Linked DNA regions of Homo sapiens: regions 1, 2, 3, 4, 5 and 7 are each linked to region 6. Evidence: promoter capture Hi-C in 16 types of primary human blood cells and fetal thymus (Javierre and others, 2016). All regions are on one chromosome and are shown on one strand. The core of a region is centred on a gene start or on the middle of the fragment in contact, and the rest is flanking DNA. Distances in the headings are between cores, read along the strand shown. Region 1 overlaps BFSP2-AS1 (BFSP2 antisense RNA 1). Region 2 overlaps TMEM108 (transmembrane protein 108). Region 3 overlaps BFSP2 (beaded filament structural protein 2). Region 4 overlaps TMEM108 (transmembrane protein 108). Region 5 overlaps BFSP2 (beaded filament structural protein 2). Region 6 holds the start of NPHP3-AS1 (NPHP3 antisense RNA 1). Region 7 overlaps TMEM108 (transmembrane protein 108).

Evidence for each region. The method cuts DNA at HindIII sites, captures the fragments that hold promoters and counts their contacts. A CHiCAGO score of 5 or more calls a contact.
Region 1: a contact is called between a fragment that was not itself captured here and the fragment with the promoter of NPHP3-AS1 in region 6, in 9 of 17 cell types (non-activated CD4 T cells, total CD4 T cells, M1 macrophages and 6 more). The highest score is 9.3, in non-activated CD4 T cells.
Region 2: a contact is called between a fragment that was not itself captured here and the fragment with the promoter of NPHP3-AS1 in region 6, in 5 of 17 cell types (megakaryocytes, endothelial precursors, fetal thymus and 2 more). The highest score is 11.2, in megakaryocytes.
Region 3: a contact is called between a fragment that was not itself captured here and the fragment with the promoter of NPHP3-AS1 in region 6, in 15 of 17 cell types (total CD4 T cells, naive CD8 T cells, naive CD4 T cells and 12 more). The highest score is 21.3, in total CD4 T cells.
Region 4: a fragment that was not itself captured here is called in contact with the fragment with the promoter of NPHP3-AS1 in region 6 in 1 of 17 cell types (endothelial precursors); the score reaches 7.7 in endothelial precursors.
Region 5: a contact is called between a fragment that was not itself captured here and the fragment with the promoter of NPHP3-AS1 in region 6, in 13 of 17 cell types (total CD4 T cells, fetal thymus, naive CD8 T cells and 10 more). The highest score is 11.5, in total CD4 T cells.
Region 7: a contact is called between a fragment that was not itself captured here and the fragment with the promoter of NPHP3-AS1 in region 6, in 4 of 17 cell types (fetal thymus, megakaryocytes, erythroblasts and 1 more). The highest score is 8.3, in fetal thymus.

What each region holds. Positions count from the first base shown.
Region 1 is chr3:133,477,638-133,481,064 of GRCh38, reverse strand. The region is part of intron 1 of BFSP2-AS1 (BFSP2 antisense RNA 1); the gene reads left to right. Among named protein-coding and RNA genes, the nearest start is that of BFSP2-AS1, 12 kb to the left of the region's middle. The HindIII fragment of the contact is 9,176 bases long and covers 1-3,427 here.
Region 2 is chr3:133,393,115-133,396,705 of GRCh38, reverse strand. TMEM108 (transmembrane protein 108) reads right to left here. Exons shown (of 6, transcript NM_023943.4): 6 at 1-842. The coding sequence ends at 720. Among named protein-coding and RNA genes, the nearest start is that of BFSP2, 5.1 kb to the left of the region's middle. The HindIII fragment of the contact is 3,788 bases long and covers 1-3,589 here.
Region 3 is chr3:133,441,227-133,445,024 of GRCh38, reverse strand. All of the region lies in intron 1 of BFSP2 (beaded filament structural protein 2), which reads right to left. The region is part of intron 2 of BFSP2-AS1 (BFSP2 antisense RNA 1); the gene reads left to right. Among named protein-coding and RNA genes, the nearest start is that of BFSP2, 43 kb to the right of the region's middle. RefSeq lists an enhancer at 2,788-3,067. The HindIII fragment of the contact is 3,562 bases long and covers 1-3,214 here.
Region 4 is chr3:133,292,189-133,295,983 of GRCh38, reverse strand. The region is part of intron 3 of TMEM108 (transmembrane protein 108); the gene reads right to left. Among named protein-coding and RNA genes, the nearest start is that of TMEM108-AS1, 37 kb to the right of the region's middle. The HindIII fragment of the contact is 1,423 bases long and covers 1,768-3,190 here.
Region 5 is chr3:133,461,690-133,465,088 of GRCh38, reverse strand. All of the region lies in intron 4 of BFSP2 (beaded filament structural protein 2), which reads right to left. All of the region lies in intron 1 of BFSP2-AS1 (BFSP2 antisense RNA 1), which reads left to right. Among named protein-coding and RNA genes, the nearest start is that of BFSP2-AS1, 28 kb to the left of the region's middle. The HindIII fragment of the contact is 5,737 bases long and covers 1-3,399 here.
Region 6 is chr3:132,720,203-132,722,999 of GRCh38, reverse strand. NPHP3-AS1 (NPHP3 antisense RNA 1) reads right to left here and starts at 1,250. Exons shown (of 11, transcript NR_002811.2): 1 at 621-1,250. NPHP3 (nephrocystin 3) reads left to right here and starts at 591. Exons shown (of 27, transcript NM_153240.5): 1 at 591-1,037. The coding sequence starts at 645. NPHP3-ACAD11 (NPHP3-ACAD11 readthrough (NMD candidate)) reads left to right here and starts at 541. Exons shown (of 45, transcript NR_037804.1): 1 at 541-1,037. RefSeq lists silencers at 75-584, 685-934. The HindIII fragment of the contact is 4,122 bases long and covers 1-2,797 here.
Region 7 is chr3:133,375,530-133,378,892 of GRCh38, reverse strand. All of the region lies in intron 3 of TMEM108 (transmembrane protein 108), which reads right to left. All of the region lies in intron 1 of LOC101927432 (a long non-coding RNA gene), which reads left to right. Among named protein-coding and RNA genes, the nearest start is that of BFSP2, 23 kb to the left of the region's middle. The HindIII fragment of the contact is 9,798 bases long and covers 1-3,363 here.

The DNA.
Region 1 (3,427 bases), core at 125-2,624, 760 kb before region 6:
TTCCTCTTTTCCTAATTGAATACCCTTTATTTCTTCCTCTTGTCTGATTGCCCTGGCCAGAACTTCCAACACTATGTTGAATAGGAGTGGTGAGAGAGGGCATCCTTGTCTTGTGCCGGTTTTCAAAGGGAATGCTTCCAGTTTTTGCCCATTCAGAATGATATTGGTTGTGGGTTTGTCATAAATAGCTCTTATTTTTTTGAGATACATTCCATCAATACCTAGTTTATTGAGAGTTTTTAGCGTGAAGGGGTGTTGAATTTTGTCAAAGGCCTTTTCTGCATCTATTGAGATAATCATGTGGTTTTTGTCATTGGTTCTGTTTATGTGATGGATTATATTGAGTGATTTGTGTATGATGTTTAAAAAAAGCTCAGAAAGTGTCTGGGGATGTTGAAACAGATGCCTGGTCACTTGCCTTGATTTGCATGGGGCTGAAACAGGAATGAGAATTCAGCCCAGAGATAGGGTTCAGAGCTGTCAGAAGAACTGATGTAATTTGAGGTGGGTCCTGAAGCTAGATTGAGAGACAGCCTATGAGACCTTGGAGAGAAAATCACCATGAGGGAGAGAAGAGACTGGCAGAATAGTCTGACTGAGCAGGTGGGGGCTGGCTGTTAGGCCGTGCTGGCCTCTTTGATTCAGCTCACTTCTCCCAGGGCTTATGTGGTTAGGAGATTAAGGAAAGGAGAGGGGTATGAAAGAAAACAAAAGGCCTGTGTCAGGGGAGGCTCAAGGTCTCTGGTAGAGGAAACTCCCTCCAAAAGAGCTAGTTATGAGAAGCAGTGCAGTGCAGTAGAAGGATTACGTGGGCCAATTAGGAGGCCTATAAAACTGTTGGAATGTAGCCACTCTGTTTCTAGGTGGGACGCTCACCTGCCAGGAATTTCAGCAGTAGAAGGATTACGTGGGCCAATTAGGAGGCCTATAAAACTGTTGGAATGTAGCCACTCTGTTTCTAGGTGGGACGCTCACCTGCCAGGAATTTCAGTTGTATTTGGTGAGGAAAATTGGTGGGAAAGCAGGACTTCTCACAAATTATCGTGCAAATATGACCTCGATTGTTTTCACAAGCTGGTCAAATCCATTGTAGATCCCACCCACCTCTAGTCAACTTTAATCTATGCTGTCCATTGTGGTAGCCACTGGCCACATGTGGCTATTGAGCTCTTGAAATATGACTAGTGTGACGGAAGAACTGAATTTTAAGTGTTATTTAATTTTAATTAATTAAAAATTTAATTAAAATCTTAAGCTGTGTAAAATATTTGTCCTGAAAACTTATAAGAAAAATTTGAAATGGGATTTTTTATGTTGATACATTTAGAGTTGATTCTCAATATATGTAATACCTCCTTGAACATGATGTTAATAAATACTGAATGAGATGCAAGACTTAATGAATTTACTTAACTTAGACAGGTGTGGTTTTGAAACTGATGTGCTTTTGCTTCAAAGTCACACGAACTCTTCTGAAAAAGATGAACCACTTTATGTCAATGTGGATATGAAGATCAAAGGAAAACAAATCTTGTGATCTTAAATTCAGTTATTGGAAAACTTTTAAGTATGTTTGGAACAGCTTGGGTACGTCAATTTACTTTTTCAACTATAAATTTTATGAAATTTAAATATAGCTCAAGTATTTCTGATGAAGATTTAGTATGTGAATTGAGATGGGCTATTAGGGTAAAACATAAGCCAGATTTCAAACTTAGTACCAAAAATATAAAACTCTCAATAATTTAAAAATATTGATTACATTATGAAATAATAGAATTTTGGACATAACAAGATGATTAAAATATATTAAAATTAATTTCACCTGTTTATTTTTCCCTTTTTGAGATATGGCTATTAGAAAAATTAAAATTACATATGTAGTTTGCATTCTGTTTCTATTGGACAGTGCTAATCTAGATTATTTAAGGGCAGGTTCACATTTCGTACATCTTCATATTCTTGGCCTCTAACATGGCATTGACATATAACAGGGACTGCATAAATATTTATTGAGGAAAAGGATTTAGTTTTGGAGGGAGCTTTCCACTACTCAGCATGATTGTTGCTCTGGTGAACTGCTAAGACTGAATTCCCAAAATAATGTGTAAACCCACTATTTCACTTCCTCAGGACAATTTATTACCCTACGTGTTTCTCTTGCTTCTTTTCTTTTGGTTGCTGGTACTAAACAATGAGGGGCTGAACCTACCACTAGTCTATTGATTTCCTGTCCCCTCTCCTTTTGTTTTCTTCTCAAAGCAACCACAACACCATTAATTATCATCCAGGGAGTTAGTGACAACTTGTCTTAATCATCTTGTCAGGTTTGCCTTTGTCTTTTTAGTTTAAAGTTGTGAACCCCATTTATACACTTTTCCTGTCTAGGATGTCAGTAAGAACTTTAGCTGTAGATAAAAACAAAACAAAAACAAGGTATGCATGACTTGTCCAAAGAAATTTAGTAGTTTTTGCTCATCCATTTTGCAAAGCCCTTTCTTTAAGATGCAACATGTTTTTTGGTCCAATCCCAGAATTACACTGAAAACTGGACTCCCTGTGGTGCAAATTACCTTCCACTCTCAGAGCAGGAGAAAATGGAATATTTCCTCTTGGGCATGATAGCAAAAACTCTGTCGACTCTGCAACACCACATGTCTATGCTGGGATCTATTCCTGTTCCTGCTCAACCTTTTGTTCAAAATAACCAGTCGATATGATCCAATCAAACCAGTTACTTCAGCTGAGAAAACAGTTTGCTTTAGTTCTTCACTAAACTAGCAGACTAATTTCTCAAACACGATGGTGCTTTTGTGTCAGGGGACTGAGTTTCCAATCAAGAATGGGTAAAGACACAGTCTGGGTCATCCTTTCCCCTTCTTGTGTATTGGGATGTCCCAACTGGAAGTGCTAGGCAAACCTTTATGAATTGCTTGATGTCAGATAACTATGTGGGGAATACGAAGTATGGAGTGCTTCTGTCTGATATTATTACAGCTGCAAGCTAATGTTTTAGCATAAGTATGTCTCATGCAACATGTGGGACATACTTATACTAAAAACCTCTTCCTTTTTTTATCTGAAATTTAAATTAAACTGGGCATTCTATATTTTTATTTCCTAAGTCTGGCAATCCCAGATAAGATTCTAGATTTGTCTCCAAAGAAACAACCCATCCTTTTCTCAAAACAAGCAAGACAATGTAAGGGTTTATAAAATAATATCTATGGGGTGTGTGGAGACAATCAGAGACAGGCATGGTGCTTGATGGTTCTTGCTAAATCAACTTGCTGAAAACCAAGTGAGGTCAGACTCAGATGTCTATTTTTATACCTTTGATGACAAAATGAATCTATGAAGGGGTTGTGAAAACTGTAATGTGCTGCTCTGTCTGCTTTGCTTTTCTTATCCTTTGCATTGTTGATCC
Region 2 (3,591 bases), core at 446-2,945, 670 kb before region 6:
ATGGGCATAAAGGGAGCATTTTCCCACCAGGGAAAGGCAGTCCTGTTGTTAGCAGTGGAAGTAATGTTAGGGGAATATGGCCTTGGGATGCCTTGATGTCCTCCATGGATTCCTGAGGGCTCCATGCTCCTGCCTGCCATCCACAACTTGGATGGAATTAAACATGACATCCAATGGTGCCGTCATAAGGCTCCAGGGTACTCATCCTCAGAGGTGATGAGATGTTCCCTTTTCCTTCTCTGTGCATGAGTCTGCCGTCTTCCCCTGAGGCGGTCCAGTTCCCTTTACAGGTGTGCGTATGAGAAGGGAGGAAATGGGGTCACACCAAATCAAGAGGAACCAGAGCTTTAAGAATCACTCAAAGAATCGTGCGCTTGCACTGTAACATTCAGCTTCTACAGGAGGTCAGTCTCTTACCTCACCTGACCAGGGTTCCTGGGATCCCCAGGTGCTCAAGAATAGTTATTAAGAGAAGCAATCAATGCAACTGCTTTGCTTAGAAATACCTTTATTTTATAAAGCCACAGATCATTCTGTAAAGTTTTTTTTTTTTTTAAACCACACTTGTAAAAAAGATGTTGACAATTCATAGGAAAAAAAGCTGAAAATGTTTCTCATTAAGTCAGGGTTACACAAAGGTTATATTTATAATATATGTATTTGTATATTTATAATTTAGAGACGAAAAATACGGAATGGCAAAGTGATGCCTGCTGTAGTTAGATCTCAGATACTTGATCGTTTCCCACAAACAGTGTTTCTTGACAGAAGGGGTTAACAAGGACCATCCCAGTGTCTCTATAGTCGCCATTGGCTGGGGAGCGGGGCTCTGAGAGCTGGTCCTGGGAAGAGAGAGGGAGGAGATGGAGTGAGCTGGAGAAGGCTTAAGAGGTGGCCATTCTTAAAGAAATGTACACATGGGAACATTTATTTCAGCACTGATGGCTTGGTGCACATTTTCATCATCCCTACTGCTAATGCTGAGGTGCACAGCCCTCTATGCCATTCTTTTAATTAATTTGTGTGTGTGTGTGTATGTGTATATTTTAATTTTTGTGCTGTTCTTTCATATTTTTATAGCAGCTTTCAAAAAATGTTCCCTGCTTCTGGAATCACCCCAATCCCAGGTTGCCAGAGATGGTACTGCTTTCCTTGTCAAAGTCTGAGGGGACTTGCCATGCATGACACACATACAGTGCATGGCTCACTGCACTAGTGGCAAAACTCAGTCCACTTGCACCCAGACTACTTCCTGCCTCTTTCTCACAGACTTCTGGGAAACTTCTCTGCTTTTCCTTCCTGAATACACCTAGACTCACTCGCCTGTTTCCTGCTACCCACCTGTCAGGATCTAACAGACCTGTCAAGAGGCTTCAAGGGCCAATTCCTTCCCGCTCTGAGTCCTTCCAGAGCCTGGTCAGAATTATTGCCCCATTTCTTATAGCACTAGTGATGCTGAGCTGAATGGATCTGCATCTCTGTGTGACTGCATAATAAGTGACAGATGAAAATTTCAGTCTGTATGTTCAGTTGCAGGAGCAGAAAAGCCTAGAAATAGGCCATCCACTGCCCAGAAGGTAATCTGTATGGCTTTGGCAGGGTTTTGGTTTCACTTACCAAGGACAAGCAAACATTTACGGGCTACTAAATGGCTGTACTTGGATTTGGGCCCTGGTACTAATTAAGAGAGAGAAAAAAAGAAAGTCATAGCTTCTTCCAATTAAAACAGCTAATGTCTTGGAACCTTCAAGCCATTTCAGGACAAAGACTCAACTATAGGCCTAGGTATACTGGCTCATGCCAGATTTGCTTAGCCACAATTAATTCTCTGAAGTTTATTTTTAAACAAAACATACATAACAGATACTTTCTGAGGAGTACTTACTGCTGTATGAATCATAAGGTAAGGAAGAAATGCCATTGTTGATAAAATGTCTTTTCAGAAGACAAGAATTTCCTTCAGTGTCTGGAATTAGTTCAACACCTATCTAAGGGTGGATATGGGGCCAGCCATCTAAGGAAAATAGTGGAGCACTTCAAAGAGGAGACAAAAATCCCTTTCCTCCACCATGCTTTTGGGTTTAACTGTGGAGGCTGAGCTTGGCTTGTCATTTTATAGCTTTCACAAAGCAAGTCTTCACCAAAGGCAAAACCATGTGGGTATGTTTTGCTGCATTAAAGAGAGAGTTATTCAGGAAACAACCAAAGCAAAGGAGAAGAAAAAAGAAGGGAGGAGAGAAGGAGGGAGAAAAGAAGGAAGAAGAGAAAACAGGGAGAAGGAGGAGGAGGAGGTGGGAAAAAGAAAAAAGAATGGAAGTTTCCAAGCACTTGTTGGGCATCACAATTTTGTCTGTACAGCCCTGGATCTGTGTTTTGCTGCTTGCATCAACACAGCAGTGGGGGCAGGGCAACTGAGGAACTTGCTTAGGCAAACCATTTGGCAGTCTCCAAAGTTAGCAGCTAAAGGGCAGGTGGTGAGTACATGTCCTGAGGATGTGGAACATGGTGGAATATGAACTGGGACCTTATGATTGCTCTAGAGATGGTCAGCAGTGTGTGTGTGCTTGGCTGGCTTCATCCTGGCCCTAGGCTGCCTGCATTTACCCTCATATAGTGTGAGCCCAGAGAATTGGAACAAATTGTAATATTACTCTAAATAAAGCAGAACAAGAGGAACGGCTTGCTGGGAGGGAAACAGCAAAATCCAATCCACTCTGAAGCCAAGCTGAGCTTTGTGCTGCAGGTCCTATGGCGCCCTCCTGGTCTGAAGATCACGACTGGCTGGGGCAGCCCTTTCTACCAGAGCCTCTGGATTGTGTTGGACGGCAGCCCTCGTGCTCTGTGCCAAATGACTAACTGGGATGTTCTAAAAGCAAGGGCCTTTTCTATAGTGCGTTCACGAGTATTGTCCTTTGGCTTTGGTTTTCATTTACCAATTTGCAAAGAGAATATGAGAAATTTAAAGTTCAGGGGTTCACAGCCCATACCTAAAGTAGGACCAGCCCCTTTGTCAAGTTACATATTTTTTTCCACTTACTACAACAGATCTCAGGAACACCTTTTCCATGCAAAATGTGTACAGGCCACACTAAAGGTCAATGCTGCAGTGAAGCTGGCCCCTCGTTTGTCCTCTGCTTAAAAATTTTTCTTGGGCATTTACTGTGTGTTAGGCTCTGACTGGGTGATGGGTAAATTGTGGTGAACAACATTTATAGTTCATTCACATGATAAACATTTACTAAGAACCTACCATGTGCCAGGCACTGCTCCAGGTGCTGGGAATAGAGCAGTGAGCACAACAAACAATGCTCCTGCCTCAGGCAGCAGGACAGCCAGACCACAAACCAATCAACAGAGAGACAATGATGCAATGTCAAGTGGTGAGAAGAGCTCTGAAGACAAGTAAAGTAAGGAAGAGGAAACAGAATGAGGTTGGAGATTTAATTAATACAGAGTGGTAAGGGAGGGAGGGCCTCCCAGAGGAGGTGGCATTTGAACAGAGACCTGAAGGAATTGAGGGTTCAAGGTATCCAGGAGAAAAGCATTTCAGATAGGGTGCAAGAACGAAGCTCTAAGGTGGGGGCAAGCTTC
Region 3 (3,798 bases), core at 184-2,683, 720 kb before region 6:
AAAAGGTAGACAAGACCAGACCATAGAGGGAAGGCCTTGGGCACAATGGAAAGGAGTTGAGATTTACTGGGAAGCCTTTGAAAGGGCTTGAGCAGGTTACAGAGGTGATCTGTGCACTAAGTGGACCCTCTGACTACTGTGGGAAGAGAGGATTGGAGGAGGCAGGAGAAGATGCCAAAGAACCAGTCGGGAGGCTCTTGCGGTGGTCCAGGGAGCCCATTTTATTAATGATGGTGGCCTGGACGAACGATGTGATCATAGGGTAGGTGGAAAAATGTGGACTAGTTTAAGATGCATTTGGGGGATAGAACAGTCGGTTCTTTGTGGTGCAGTAGTTATGGGGAGAGTGAGGGAAAACAATTAGGGGTGACCGCTCCGTTTCATCCTGAGCTGTAGAGAGCATGGTGGGGCCTTTGCTGATTCTCTTCCTCCCTCATTGGCTGGTTCCTGCATCTGAGTCACAGCCCACCCCTGTGGCACATTATCCCTCTCTTACCACATTTAGTATAAATACTTTGTAGACAACGACAGTGTTTTCTTATTCTGGAAACTGGCTCCTCCATTCACAAGCATGGGTCAGTTGCTTAGAGTAAGTAATTCTAAGATTTGGTTTCCTCCCCCATAAAATGAAGATAATAATACTCCCTTCCTCCTGGGAGAATTAAATGAGCCAAGGTGTGTGAGACTCAGCGTATGTGTGACTCAGCAGATTGCCTGGCACAGAGTAAATATTGCATGAACGGTAGCCATTATCATCATTGTTATTTGTCTTTGTACAAAGCAGTTGTTCAATGAATGTCGAATGAATTTGATGGGTTTGTGCAGTCTGGCACTGATCCTGCTTTACTTTTCTGAAGTGCACAGGCAGTTGAATGAAGACTTCCATCTAGTGGCTTGATATATATATATGTATATATATACATATATATTTTTTTCCTTTGTTTTTCCTGTCCATAGTCATCTGAAAAGTCCTAGTCATTTGTACCATGATGGTGAGGACTTTATCTCTTTCTATAATACTACTCCTGTTTTCACTGCGGATGTAGTTATTAAAATAAATGAGCTGGTGGTGGTGGATGAGAGATTTGACCATCATTGTGTTAAAGGAAAGGCAAATACAAGCAGCGTTTTAAAAAAGGTTATCATTTGGGCCCAAGGGTACAATGAATGGTTTGTTTGGAGTAAAGATATTGGCATTCTGGCAGCTAGAGCTGCAGGTGTGGGGAGGAGGTGGGTAAGACTGAGCTCCTGGGAAATTAAACTCAGCTGGTGCAGTGGCAAGATGCAAGATTCCCTTGGAAACCCTTCCCACATTTATTTGACTTTCAAGTTTAGGATGGATGTTCAGCATAACTTGCTTCTAGCAATAAAGGAATGAGAAATAATTCTCAGTCCCTAGCACCCCAGTGATACTGCTCTTAATAACAAGGCCACCGTATTACCAAGCCCGGCAGATGCTTCTCTGTGCTCATATTGACCTGCTGGTTGCATTTGTCACAGATGTACTTTTCTGTCTCGGCTTCCATGACACCACTCTCTCTGGACTTCCTCCTACTTCATTGACCATTCTTTCTTATTATTCTCTGCTTCACCAGGTTTTTCTTCCTTATCTGACCTCTAAATGTTAAAGTTTTTCAAGATTGGGTCTTGGTGCTTCTTTTTTTTAATCACTAAATGGTCTGATCTATCCACACAGATTTAAATGGCATTGTATGTGCTAATGACTTTCACATTTAAATGTCTATCTCAGAACTTTCTGCTCAGCTCCACACTTGCATACTCACCCTCTCTTTGAGGTCTTCACTTGGCTATTTCTCAGACATCTCAAACTTAACATGTCCCCGAATGAAAATCTAGATAATTTTGGCCGGGTGCGGTGGCTCACGCCTGGAATCCCAGCACTTTGGGAGGCTGAGGTGGGTGGATTACCTGAGGTCAGTTGTTCCAGACCAGCCTGGCCAACATAGTGAAACCCCTGCCTCTACTAAAAATACAAAAAATTAGCTGGGCGTGGTTGCACGCACCTGTAATTCCAGCTATTTAGGAGGCTGAGGCAGGATCATGGCTTGAACCCAGGAGGCAGAGGTAGCAGTGAGCTGAGATCGCACCACTGCACTCCAGCCTGGGCAACAAGAGTGAAAATCCATTAAAAAAAAAAAAAAGAAAATCTAGATAATTTCCCCACAAATCTTCCCTTTCCCCACCACCCCTTGATCCTCTTCATCTCAGTAAACAACCCCAATGTCTACCCGGAAACCAAGGGATCATCTTGATCTCTCACTTTCTGTCATCTCCCACATCTCATTTATCACTGAGTCTAGTCAATTCTACCCCCACAATGTATCTCAAATCCATTTATTTCTCTCTACCTCTCTTGACATCACCCTAGTGCAAGTCCCCATCATGCTCTCCTATCCCATTATAATATCCCATTGTAATATCCTTCCAACTCCCTGATCTGTACCTCCCTCCTCCAATGCATTCTGCATCCTGCTTCCAGAGTGGGCTTTTTAAACTCTTAAAATCATATCATGTCACTCTGATTAAACTAAATTAAAACTCTTCAGAGGGGCTAGGTGTGGTGGTTCACGCCTATAAGCCCAGCACTTTGGGAGGACAGGGTGGGTGGATTGCTTGAGCCTAGAAGTTTGAGACCAGCCTGGGCAACATAGCAAAACCCTATCTCTCCAAAAAACAAAACAAAACAAAAAAACAGAATTTATCCAGGTGTCATGATGTGCACCCACAGTCCAGCTACTTGGGAGACTGATGTGGGAGGATCTCTTGAGGCCAGGAGGTCGAGGCTGCAGTGAGCTATGATTGCACCACTGCACTCCAGCCTGAGAGACAGAGTGAAAGTGAAAGCCCATCTCAGAACAAAAACAACACACAAAACAAAACAAAACTCTATAGAAGTGTCTCTTATACTTAGAGTAAAACCCAGTCTTCTGAAGTGGCCTTCAAGGCCCTGCATGCTTGTTACTCTTCCATTGCTCCAAAGGCTCCAGCCATGTGGGTCTTGGTCTTTCTGGACCATACCAGTCCCTCTCCTGCTCAAGGCCCTAGCACTTGCCGACTCCCCTGCCTGGCCCACTCCTCCCTTCCCCTTTGCATGAATAGCTCCCTCATTCTGGTCACCTTACTGCGAGCAGTGCTTCCCTTTACTCTGCCCCTTTCTGCTTTGTTAGTTTTCTTTAAAACACTTACCAAAGCTTGTATTATCAATTTTATGGTTTTTAAATTATTTTATCTGTATTTTCTGCTAGAATATAACCTCCTGGAAGTCAGGCACTGCCTTTCTGTCCTGTTTGTTGTTCCATCCCTAGCACAGTGTCTGGTACAGCAGGTATTAGTTGAATTAATGAGCCCAGCAGTAGTGCTACCTCTTTATGGAGAACCCAAGCAGGGAAGACCCAGTGCCTACCCTCAGGGAACAGCCAGGTTCTTACCTAGCTCCAACCTGAGAATCACCTTAAACATCTCTCTCTTCCTCATCCCCCAAGTCAAAAACCAACAATTCCCCAAGTAGATGTGCCCAAATCCATTCCCACTCCATTATCCAGCTTGGTTCAAGTCCTAATCATCTCTTTTCTGGTTTAACCTGATAGTTGTTACCTGGGGACAAAAACTAAGAAGCCCAAGCACAGTGAGTTAAGATTGCATCTGAGGCCGAGTGCAGGGGCTCACACCAGTGGCTCAGGGGATTACGAAGTATAATCCTAGCACTTTGGGAGGCCCAGGCAGACGGATCACCTGAGGTCAGGAGTTCGAGACCAGCCTGGCCAACATGGCAAAACC
Region 4 (3,795 bases), core at 1,230-3,729, 570 kb before region 6:
CCAGCTCTTTCATGTTAGTAAGAGAGGTTGTTCCCCAATAGACAGTCCTGTTACCGTTTTTTGGCAACAAATTATTTTCATTCAGGGGGCCTTGGTGAACTGTGTACCCCACCAACATGTGGGTTTTCTTTTCTTCAGCGGGCCCAGCTGCAATGCTGATGTTGCTTATCCAACATCATAACTTCTGGCCTGTAATTACGTTTTCCCATGAAATTACAAGGCAAAGTAATGTAACCAAGTTGCCCAGAAGCCAGTGGTGGCCTTAACATTGCACTCACTATCTCCCTCCTGGCTCTCTCAATGTCCCACAGGATCAGGAAGAATCTGGACTGGAGGTTGGAACATCTTGGATTCCAAGCCTGGTTTTACCAAATAATGCTTTTGGGCAAGTCACTGCACACTTCTGCTCTTCTGAAAAGTAAGGAGGGCCTTTCTAGATAACAATAATAACAACTCAACCTGACAAGGGGCTTTATAGTTCACAAAATGCTCTCAGGATGTTTCATTTCATGCTGACTACTTGCCAGGTAGGCATATGAGTCATCAGCCTCTCCAATTACAGAGAATGAAACAGTGGGCCCAGGAGTTCCCTAATGGGCCTACCACCACATGCTAGACGATGGTGAGCAGGGAAGCTAAAGCTCTAGGTTCTCAGCTCCTTGCTCTCCTTACTTCTCCATCCCTCCCTCCAGAAAAGCTTTGCTCAAAGCCTCCTTCCAGATCTCAAATGCTATGGTTCTCAGGGTTCCGGGCAAACTTTTTCTAGTTTCTGCATAAAAAAATTTGGATAACTGATGTCAATCTCCAAACTTGCCCTTTTAATGAAATAAACATTTAAAAAAGTGCTTATGATCTAAATGTTAATAATATGTGACTGCAGCATCTCAAATTTTATTTAAATTCATCATTTTACCATAATTTGTTGTTACAAAAGTACCTAGTGGGGAGGGGATACTTCATAAATCAGTGGTGAAAGACTTCCGTTTACTTGATAGATAAACCCCAAGTACTTTTCTCCACTGTAACACTCCCAGGTTGGTGAAATTTGATTTCAGGCAAAGAATGTACATTATTCAGTTAGTGGTTCTGTTCTCATTAGATTGAAATGGCACATACATTAATTTCTTTATTAAAAATTCTTCAGGAAATAGGACATATGGATGCTTTAAATCTCATAAATCTGAAATTACCCCAATTGTGAATCAGCCAACATTATTAAAGGGAATGTGCTGGCCTACAATTTCCTGAACTTCACCATCTCAGTAGCAGCCATTTAATAAAAGCTAATGTGCATTTAGTTTTAATTAGTTTCCATCAGTAGTTACAGAAGTTTAAAAAATAATTAAGCAAACCAATAAAAATACATCTCAATATTGCTACTTGGGAATTAAATTGATTCTATCCTTCTGCAGATAAGAGAATTATCATAGGAGGCAAATCCCCCATCTCCAGAAATAATCATTATATTGGTATTTAAATTAAATTATCCGGAAAGAATCATATTTGAAGGAAGTAGAGAAAACATCCTGAGATGAGTCATCATGAGGTGATGGCTCTGGGACATAAGGCTGTGTGTTTTTGTATTCTCATAGTTTTCTTTAGCTTCTCAACCCTAAATTGCATTTTTTAAAAAGTAAATAACACAAAAATGGTGGCTTCACTTTTTATTACCTAATTCTTCTGAGAAGTTCTGAGAATTTTAGTGCCATGTTGCTATCAGCTCAAAATAACCCTAAGGTTGGAAGATTTCTACTGTACAATAAAGCTTTCTTCCTTATATTTAACACTATCACTTATTTTCTGCCTGAAGATGCCGTGCATTTTTTATAAGGATGAAAAATATAAATGCTTATTACCCAGAAAAGCACTTCTAGTAAATTAAATTCATTCAAATCACATCAAATAAGGCAAAGAGGACCAAACACTTACAGAGAGTGGTACATTAATATTCAGTCATAACAAATCTGAGACTTTCTGCACAGTAGCCTGGTCTATCTTTGGCAAAGGATGGCAGTGTTCCAGTTTGCAACATCTCCCCTTGGTGTACGGAAGCTGATTTCTATGTTGCCAGCTGCCACTGGATGCAATTTTAAAATTCAAGTTGACAACCTCTTAACTCTTCTGTTATACTCTAATTGAGGTGATGGTCTCTGCTTCCAATCTGAACTAGACAAGACACTGTGAGATAAGAGGAATCTTCAATATGTTAAAAAAAAACCCTCACACACAAGATGTAGGCATGTTCTACTTCAATTTCATGTAAGTGGAGAAAAAGAAAATGGACTTAAGCTGCACAAAGAATGCTCATGCTTGACGAGTTAGCCAGCAAAACCACTCAACATCCGTCTTAGGAAGGAACTAAAAATAAAGGGTCCTAGTTATGCTTGAAAGTTGGCACTGGCATAAGGCAGGAAGTTGGTGAGATGAATCCTTAAGATCCACTCGAATCCAGGAATGTGTATTTTATTATTAATCTTTGGTCTTGAGTGCATCTAATTCAATACTGGACAGTGTCCAAACCTCATTCATTTAATAGCCAACAATTTAATTCCCAAGCCTAACATAGAACCTGGCACATAGTAAGCCAACACTTGTCAAGGGCTTACTATGTGCCAGGCTCTGTGTTAGGCTTGGGAACAGATACAAAGAAGAAGGTTTCTACCCTTGAGGAGTGTGATAAAGGCTTTCATGGAGAGAAGTGCTAAATTTGATGAGAATTCAAAGGTAGGCATGATTGATTCATCTGTGGACTCAGTGTTGAAGAAAGTTGGAGGCTGGATCCTTTGATGAATGGCAGATGGTTTAAATGAATACTCTATCAATGAGAATTAACATTTCCTAAAAGGTATTTACTGGTAAACTAATTCCTCTTTGTGTCTCAGAAAAAGCAACTTGTCTTACAAGGTTAAATTATGCACAATTCTGTTCCCTATTGTTCTTAAGAATATTATGTTTATAGAATGTTACTCTTTTCTCTCAAAGCTCCATTCACCTAAGACATCACTTGTTATTCCTGGTCTCAGAAATAAAAGCATGCTAGTATACCAACTTTATAGATAGGGAAACTATGACCTAGAGAATGTCTCATTTGGCCAGTTATTTGGCTTAAGTTGGTGTAAGCAAGTGGCATATGAAATAGAACTGGAAGCCAAGCATCCTCTATCTCAAGCCCAGAGCTCTCTACAAAGCTTTGCTTGATCAAACTGCTAAGTTCAGAATTTTACAGCAGGGGAGTTGTGGCTAAGGCATCTGTGTCTCTGAGAAAAGGAGAGGGCTTTGGTGCTTTAGAGTTTGAAACAGATGCTTTAAAAAAAACTTTATAAAAACTGTCTCCAGGGTCCCCATAGCAGGCAGGCTCTGAAACAAAACCACACGTGCCTACCACCTAATTGCAGAACACTTGGGTGGGCTGTTCATGCCTGACACATTTTATAAGCAGCAGAATTCCAAGTTCCACGCATGTTGTTTATTTCTCTTATGATGACAATCAGTGCCAAAGCTAACAGCAAGCAAGAGGCAGACAATGGTAGGATCAAAGGAGAGCCTGAGATCAACCGAAACCCTGGCAATGGGCCTAATGAGGACTGGGCAAGGAAACCATCACTTTGTGAGGTAAAAACAATGGAACTGGAGGGGAGCTTAGCAGTGAAACCTTTATTTGAAGAAATCTTATGAAGAACCTTGATATTTATAAAACAACTTCTGTCCTACCTGAGCAGTTTTTTGGAGCACAGTTTGAAAACCTTGAACTTGCCACACATATTTCCTTATCCATACTTGCACACATGGCATTTT
Region 5 (3,399 bases), core at 818-3,317, 740 kb before region 6:
GGTTGCAGTGAGCCGAGATGGCACCACTGCACTCCAGCCTGGGTGACAGTGAGACTCCATCTCAAAAAGAAAAAAAAAAAAAAAAAAGAAACCCCAAGTCAAGTGGCTCATAGCTCAGTAGTAGCACCTCCAATTCTTACTGTTTGGTCTTTACAGAGCCCAAAGAATGACCATTAAAGGCTTTGGAGTCGCTGAAGGAGAACAGAAGCCTTGGACCCAGCTCTGACTGGTTAGCCAACAGCTTGTGTCCCTAAGCCATCATTCAGCTTCTCAGAGTCTCAATTTCTGCCCATGGAACACAGACCACAATGAATGGAGAATAATACTCATTATCATATAATGACTCCCTCCTGTGGTCACTGTGAGGCTTCCAGCAGATTAAGCATGCTGAAGCCTTTAGAATCTTAAAAGCATGAAAACACTGACTATATATTTTCCAAATGTAAAAAGTAATAGTGGCCAACAAATAACTTTTGTTATTTAATAGTTAAATAACAAAGTGGTAATAGTTAAATGCTACTATGAAGAGTCAAATATTTAGTAACAATTAAATAGTAATAGTTAAATACTACTAATAATAAAGAATATGTATTAGGCACTTATTCTGTGCCAAGCACATTGTTAACAGTTTTAATCAAGTATCTAATTTAATCTTTACAACCCTATGAAGGAGATGTCATTATTATCCTCATAGGAAACTGAGGCACAGGGAGATTGAGTTATTTGCTCAAGATTATATGGCCAGTGAGAGACAGAAAGAGGATTCCAGCCCAGCAGCAGACCCAGAGATGTGCTCTCAACTAGTATTTAATGTTGTCATCTCCACCAATCTACCAATTTAAGATCCCTAAAATTGGAGGTATCTTCCCCAAACTCAGGTGGATCATTCTGAAGTATACTCCTTGTCTTCCAAGTTCTTATGATCAATACCCCAGTTTTTCTCCCCTCTTTGGGGTTGGGTTCCTGGCCAGATGGGCTGTGTAGGTAGGTAGGAGGCAGGAGGTGGGGCATCCTGGAAGGCAAATGGAGTCAGACAATGTAGCTACAGAGGGTGGCGGGGAGCAGTAGTGAGCTAGAACTTGCTCCTAACAGCTCACGGGAGCTGATTTTTAAATTTTCAGGAATGTTGTAAGTTGACTGCTAAACACAGCCATCATTAGAAATTAAATTACATTGTTACTGGTAACTGTAACAGAGGTAGCTAATAGGTAGCCAGTCAGACATGAACAGGGCGGGAGAGGCACCCCCACAACCAACTAAGAATGTCAGGTGACCATCAGGTGATGGTCAGGTGGTTGTTAACAGTCTCTCTAAAATAATAACTTGTCACAGCTGGCAGGGAAAAGCAGTCTCCCTAAAGATAGAAAAAACCTGAAACTGGTGATCAGCAACTTCCTGATAAGATCTCAGGAGTTGGGCAAGTGAGCTCAAGCATGCACACTAAAAGGCAAAATGGCAGAGTTAAACTGGTATATGACCTCCTAGGGGCATTTAGCTGGTAAGAGAAGAATGCCTTAAATGAGCAGGTGTACAACTCCAGTAAACACACTGCGCATGCTCCCCTCCGAAGTGCTAGCAGGCCATCGCACATGCGGACACCCCACCCCAAGGGAGGAATCGGGAGAAGGGATGAAAGATCCCAGAAGCATGCCAACGTATAAATCCCCAAGTCAAAAGGTCAAACTGCGCACTTGTCTTTCAAGTTGCCTGCTTGGCCCTCTTCCAAGTGTATTTCCTTCCTTTTGTTTCTGCTCTAGAGTTTTTTGTTTGTTTTGTTTTGAGATGAAGTCTTGCTCTTGTCCCCCAGGCTGGAGTGCGATGGTGCGATCTCAGCTCACCGCAACCTCTGCCTCCCAGGTTCAAGCAATTCTCCTGCCTCAGCCTCCCGAGTAGCTGAGATTACAGGCGCCTGCCACCATGCCCGGCTAATTTTTGTATTTTTAGTAGAGATGGGGTTTCTCCATGTTGGCCAGGCTGGTCTCGAAATCCTGACCTCAGTTGATCCGCCGGCTTCAGCTTCCCAAAGTGCTGGGATTTCAGGCGTGAGCCACCGCACCCGGTCTCTGCTCTAGAGTTTTTAAATAAACTTTCACTCCTGTTCTAAAACTTGCCTCCGTCTCTTCTGCTTTATGCCCTTCAGTTGAATTCTTTCTTCTGAGGAGGCAAGAATTGAGGTTGCTTCAGACCCCCTACAGATTTGCCACCAGTAACAAATAATGTGAGTGACTTTTTGCTTAATCAGAAATTAGTAATCAAGCATTTTTTGTAGTCTGATTTTGTGATACTATTGTTGATGATAGAATTATAAAAAATGGTTGGTGAATTTTCCAAGAAATAGCAAGTCATGCTGAAGTTATAGGTGTAATTGAAATAGCAAAGTATTTTGTCTTAAAATTTGTGTTATTTCTAAAATTATATATAAAAAAATCAGTGGGAATTGTTACATTACCCTTAAGCAGTATTGTGAATGTGATTGGCACATATATACATATACATATATTTCACCCAGAAAGCAGTTGTGAAACATTTACCATCACTCCATACGGAAAAGCCAGGGAAGGAATGGAGGCAAGTTTCAAAGCCTTGGTGTGCAGGTCTAGTGTAAAGCTGCTGGCCAAGGCTATAGCCACAGTCCCTCACATGATTTGTCCCCTCTCAATCCAGTGAGCAGCTTCCGTGATATTTACTGGTTTCTTGGCTGAAACACCATGTCTTAGTTTCATTAGCAAAAATACTGTATTTAGGTGTTTCTCAAATGTTCTTGCACCACTGACATGGTTTTTCACACTCTCTTAATACTCATTCATGCTATTTTTATTTAAACCAATTCACTCTTTTTTTACAAATAAACGTGTTTAAAATGGAAACTGTAGGTTAGTTATCTGTAAACTGTAGGTTAGTTTAAAATGGAAACTATAGGTTAAATGCGCATGAGCGTCACCTTAGGATCTTGAGAAAATGTGGGCTCTGATGCAGGGGATCCTGAGTACAGCTCAGAAATCTGCACTCCCAGGTCCATGCCTGCCTGGTCCATGGAAGCAAAATTCTAGATCGCTGCAGAAACCAATGAAACAGTATCCCTTGCAGTGGGTAGAGGATAACTAAAAAATTAATAAAGTTATAACCAACCACTGTTATTAAATTCCAGCTACCATTGACTGCCAAGCTGCTAAGTCCTGAGGCCTGCTTTCTCTTTGTGGAAAGGGGAGATAAATAAGTACAACAGAGGTGTTAAAGACCTCCCAGCACTGAACAGAGGCTTTCTTCTAGTTTAAGATTGAAAGAGCAAAAGAATGTAATTTGATCACTACAAGTTTTAATGTCACTGTGTTCCTTCTCAAATCATCTCACCACAAGAGATACTTCCCACTTAATTGCTTTAACTCACCTAAAGTAACC
Region 6 (2,797 bases), core at 1-2,500:
GGTCCACTGCTGGTCCTGCACAGTCGCCACTCCCCCCATCCTTCCTGCTAGCCCCGCCCTTCTTGCTAGCCCGCCTGGCCCTGTGTGCTTTCTCGACCCACCCCCGTTTGCCCTGCCCCGCCCACATGCCCCGCCCCACTTGCCCGGCCCCTCTTGTTGTCCCGCCTAGCCCTGCTGCCCCGCCCCGTCCCCCTCGCCCATCCCCCCAGTTCCGCTGCCCCGTCCCGTTCCGCTGCCCCGCCCCTCCAGTTGCCCCACCCCCTTCCGCTCTCCCTCCCCGCCCCGTTCCGCTGCCTCGCCTCGTCCGGCTCTCCGGCCCCGCCCCGCCCCGTTCCGCTGCCCCGCCCCGTCCTGCTCCCCCGCCCCGTCCTGCACCCCCGCCCCGCCCAGTTCTGCTGCCCCGCCCCTCCTGTTTCCCCGCCCCATCCCGCTCCCCCGCCTCGCCCCGTTCCGCTGCTCCGCCCCGTCCCGCTGCTCCGCCCAGTCCTGCTCTCCGGCCCCGCTCCATCCCGCTGGCCCGCCCCGTCCCGTTCCGTTCCTCTGCCCCGCCCCGTCCCGTTCCGTTCCTCTGCCCCACCCCGTCCCGTTCCGTTCCGCTGCCCAGTCCTGCTGGTACTCACTAGGTAGTAGCGGCAACGGACGCCATGGGGACCGCCTCGTCGCTCGTGAGCCCCGCGGGCGGGGAAGTGATCGAGGACACGTACGGGGCGGGCGGCGGCGAGGCCTGCGAGATCCCGGTGGAGGTGAAGCCCAAGGCCCGCCTGCTGCGCAACTCGTTCCGCCGAGGCGCGGGGGCGGCAGCAGGGGCCGGGCCCGGGTCGCTGCCCCGCGGGGTGGGCGCGGGCGGGCTGCTGGGGGCCAGCTTCAAGTCCACTGGCTCGTCGGTGCCAGAGCTGGAGTACGCGGCGGCCGAGTACGAGCGGCTCAGGAAGGAGTACGAGATCTTTCGCGTCAGCAAGAACCAGGAGTTGTTGTCCATGGGCCGCCGCGAGGCCAAGCTGGACACGGAGAACAAGCGGCTGCGGGCCGAACTGCAGGTAACGCCGGGCTGGGCCGCGACGCCGGGAGACCCTTGGGAAGCACGGCCGTCCTGCTCCCTCTCCAAACCAAGCGGCTTTGAAAGTTCGGCGGAAACTGCCCATTTTAATTTGAGAGGCCATATTCTCTTCGAGTCTGAAATGATTCCTTAACCCTCCCCTTTTTCTGTCTCTTTTTTTGGAGACAGGGTCTCGCTGCGGTGGCACGATCGCGGCTCACTGCAACCTGGAACTCCTGGGCTCAATGATCCTCCCGCCTCGGCCTCCTAAAGTTCTGGGATTACAGGAGTGAGCCACCGCGCCTGGTCCCCGCTTTTCTATTTCTGGTTTATTCATTGAGGCACCTAGAAGAAATTAGCCGGAAAGTGTCCTGAGGAGGCAAATGCCAATCTCCAGCTCCACTGCCGCCCCCGCGCCCACCCCCTCAGAAGGCTGGTGACATCTGTTGAAGCAACTCAGCAAACTCTTCCTAGGAGTTTCACCCCCCTCCCCACCATAAAAATTTTAAGTGGGTCTCCAAAGTGGGGCTCAAGTGTCGGTTTCTTTGTAAAGTTTCATCGCTCTTGCATTTTAATGGTCTTGACATGAAAATTTCTGGAAGCCTCCTGATCTCACCATGGTTGAAAACCTTCTCTAGATGTAGTCAAATTTCCCTAGTCCATTTGATTAATTTACGCTAAAAGCAATTATTGCATGCCCTCCATGTAGCAGGTCCATTATAATTCAATAAAATAGTATGTAAAGCAGCCGGGCGTGGTGGCTCACGCCTGTAATCCCAACACTTTTCGAGGCCTAGGCGGACGGATCACCTGAGGTCAGGAGTTCGAGATCAGCCTGGCCAACATGGTGAAACCCCGTCTCTACTAAAAATACAAAAATTAGCCGGGCATGGTGGCACGCGCCTGTAATCCCAGCTACTCAGGAGGCTGAGGCAAGAGAATTGCTTGAACCCGGGAGGCGGAGGTTGCAGTGAGCCGAGATTGCACCATTGCACTCCAGCTTGGGTGACAGAGCGAGACTCCGTATCAAAAAAAAAAAAATAGTATAAAGCAAGAGGTTGCTTTTCTGTGAACGAATCTCTAAAACTTTTTGCCCTCAGTTTGGGGCCCCTCTGGTCGTTGTTGTGTCGTTTGTGTACTCTTTACTGTGGGAGAGACTTATAGGCAGCCTAAGAGTTCCCGGAGTCGTTACAGTCGGGGTGAAATAAATACCTCAGACTGATTTTTCTAAAAGAAAAAAAGCCTCCTGTCTTCAAGACTAGACATTCTTCTAGTCAGGTTTTGTTGTTGTTGTTGTTGTTGTTTTTGTTTTTAAACTCCCTCATTAGCTGTTGTGTAATTATTGTCGTTGTCTGGGAAGAAGTCCGTGTAGCAGTTTATCTGTTGTCTTATCAGTTTTCCTACTGGGCAACCTTAATGCACTTGCATGTATAAAATGGACTAGTGCATTTCAAATATCTGATTCAATGTATCCAAGCCACTGCCCAACAGACACCGCACGTTGGAAACAACTGTGAGGTGGGGGTAGAAAAGGCCAAACCAAACAGGGCGGAGTGCAATAAGGGTTGGCAAGTGTCACAGTCACTCATGTCACCAATCCTGATTCCCTGTGAAACATACTGGTTCCTTTCTCACATATCGAGGCATGAAAAAACTTATCCATATTTATTTCATTCATTGTGTCAGACATTTACTGGAGACTTGCAGTGTACCAGGCACTGTGAAGTGCTCAAGGGATGGTGAGATGAATAAGACATAGTG
Region 7 (3,363 bases), core at 782-3,281, 660 kb before region 6:
GGCTGAACTCTGAAAAATTGTCATTGGTGATATCCAGCCTTTTTGAGTAGAAGGAGCCCTTTTGAACATTAAAAAAAAAAAAAAAAAAAGGATTTTGTATGATAGCCAATGTGCATACTTGCAGTTCAAGAAAATGCACAAGGACAAAAACGTATATGTTTAAAAACATTTCTAGTTATGTGTGGATTTTATCAATCACAATAGCATGTGCCTATTTTTAAAAATGGTACCTCATGCAAGCATGACATGTAGGAGCCGTTGACAACACATGGGTTGGGAAGAGCCTGTCTCTACGGCTGAGGAAGGGCCAACAGTCCTCTGAGGCCTGATTCTGACCTGTTAGCACCTCCTTGTTCATGGATCCCCTTCTTTGTCATCCTCAGGCAGTTCCTTCAGCCCCTGCTAGGCTCCTCTGACTATGGAGAGAGATCTCTGTCTGCGTCTAATTACTCTCTCAGAGCGTCTTTCCTCCATCAGATTCCAGCAGGACAAACGGCCAAAGCAGGGGCCCCAGCTGTGATTCCCAGGTGTCTGATGGAGAAGGCAGGGCCCTGGCGAGAAGCAGAGATGGGGAGGAGATCTCCAGGCATGCCTTTGACACAAGGCCCAGGATCACCGTTTGGTGTGTGGTGGAGCCTGGGCATGGGCCTGTGTCCTCACCCTGCACTTCTAAATTGGTGGGGAGTGGGAGGCTGCGGGGGACTTTAGATTGCACTGAGGCTGTAGCACCCACCAACTCTAGGACCAAAAATTTGCCCTAAACAATCTATTTTTTTCTAAACTTTCATTCATGATCTAGACTAGCGGTCCCCAACCTTTTTGGCACCAGGGACAAATTGTCTTCCACTTGGTTTTGTGGAAGACAGTTTTTCCATGGACTGGAGTTGGTCGGGGGGGGTATGGTTTTGGGATGAAACTCTTCCACCTCAGATCAGCAGGCATTCAATTCTCATCAGGAGCACGCAACCAGATCCATCCCTTGCATGTGCAGTTCACAATAGGGTTTGTGCTCCTATGAGAATCTAATGGTGCCGCTGACCTGACAGGAGGCAGAGCTCTGGCAGTAACGCTCTGGCGGTGATGCTCCGGTGGTGATGCTGGCTCACCGGCCTCCCACCTCTTGTGGTGCAGCCTGGTTCCTAACAGGCCACAGACTGGTACTGGTCTGTGACCCAGTGGTTGGGGACCCCTGATCTAGACCACACACCGACAGCACATTCTGTGTATTCGAGTCAATCCTAAAACCTGTTTACTGAACACTTGCCCTGGCCCAGGCTTTCATGCTTTAATCCATATGACCACTTGGTGGAGCATGAAATTGAGGTTTGGGGAGATTAGGCAACATGTGGAAAGTCACACAGTAGCAGAAGTATGTGAAACAAGGGTTGTCTTTAAAGTGCATGCTTATCCTGGTCAACCACTATCAATGATGCAGAAGGAGGAAGAAGAGGACAGTATGTTGCATCCCAGAAGAATTAATGTGCTGTTATGCTCTGACCTGCTCAGGGTTATTCTGGTGCCCCTATCCTGCCCACAGCTTAACACCAGAGAGACAATCTATTCCTAGGGCTAGTGGTGGTGACCTCCATGTTTTGATGGACATTCCCTTTCAAGTGTCTGTTTAGCTCACAAGTGTTAAGTGTTGTTAAGGACTGACTTATGCACCCCCAAAATCCCTATGTTGAATCCCTAATTCCCAGTACCTTAGAATGTGACTATATTTGGAGATAGGGCTTTCAAAGAGGTAATTAAAGTAAAATGAGGCCAAAAGAGTGGGCCCTAATTCGATCTGACTGGTGTCCTTCTTAAGAAGAGGAGATTAGGACACACAGACATCTGGAGCACGTGTGCACAGAGGGATGATCATGTGAGGACACGGCAGCTAGAGGACGCCATCTGCAAGCCAAGGAGAGAGGACTCGGGGGACTCCAACCCTATTGGCGCCTTGAATTTAGACTTCCATCCTCCTCAAATGTGAGGAAGTACATTTCTGTCTGTGGTATTGTGTTATGGAAGCCCTAGCAAACTAATACACATGCCTTATGTTAAGAGATCCTCTGAAAAAGGAGAGACAGAGACAGGGCTTTTGTGCAGGAAGTTTATACTGGAAAATGATCTGTGGGGTCAGCCGTGGGGGTCTGAGATTAGTGAAACAGGGAAAACCAATCTGAGGGCAGGTTATGAGCTGGTCCAGGTGGGCACCTCAAACTCACAGGGGACGTCAGTGGAGCTGAGTAGGCTGCACCTCAAATTGTCTGCCTGAAAAGAACACTCACCCAGAGGCTCCCATATTCACTGATCAAGGGCTGCTCCTGGGATGCTCATCACTGCACTTCCTGACTGACGCCAGGTCTCCATTAGCTGGATCAGAGAAGTTCTGGGCCATAGGGCTGTCAGGTTCTGCCTGCACCCAGCTGGTGTTTGCTGCAACAGCTGGAGTTAAAATTAAGGGCCCGGGGAATCTCTGGGGCCAGGCACCAGATGTGTCAGATACAATAAAAGACCGGAGACCAAGGACACAGCAGTCTTTTGGAAGCAACATTGGCTGACCCCAGGGACAGGCCCTCAGGTGGGAGAGGAGCCACCATGGCCTCTAGGAGAACTTTTGCGGCACTCCAGAGGCAGAGAGAGGGGTTAATACAGACTGATCTTTAAAACACTCAGGGAAAAAAATTCCCCTGACTTTCCCATCACTGGCATTCCAGGAACTAACATCCTCCTAGCTGGGAAGCCTTTGACTGGAATCCTTGGTGCTGTAAGATACACAGCCTAAGTAAATATGTTTGTCTTTGTTGCTGCTGCCTATTTCCCCCACTCAGCTATCAGCATCCCCTGAAGTTATTGTTCTCTCTAGAACTGTAGAGTTACCTCTTAGCCCTTTCTTCTTTGGACTTTAGAGTACATCATCTTTGGCACAATGAACGGATACTGCCACCGTGGGTGCCAAGGGATTTTTACCTGGAGGATGATGTTTACATGTTACAGTGAGAGGGGATCTGGCATTTCACCTAATCCAATCCCCTCATTTCACAGAGTGGGCAACAGAAGGAGGGAAGTGACTTGTCCAAGAACACATTGCTGGTTGGGGACACAGCCTGGACCACAGCCATTATTTCAAAGCAACTTTTCATTTGTATAATAAAAATCCCTACAATGTTGTGCTAGCCAAATACCACCTCCAACCTCTACTGTCACCTTCAATATGGAAATCAGACAAGCATTTACCTCTCTTCTTTGGCACAAAAGGTTAACAACTGAATGCTATGCACACTGTCACAATAAACATCTGAGGCCTTCAACCCAGGGCTTCCCTAACACATGCAAATTTTCATTCAAGGCCCTTTGTGCTGGACTACACACTCC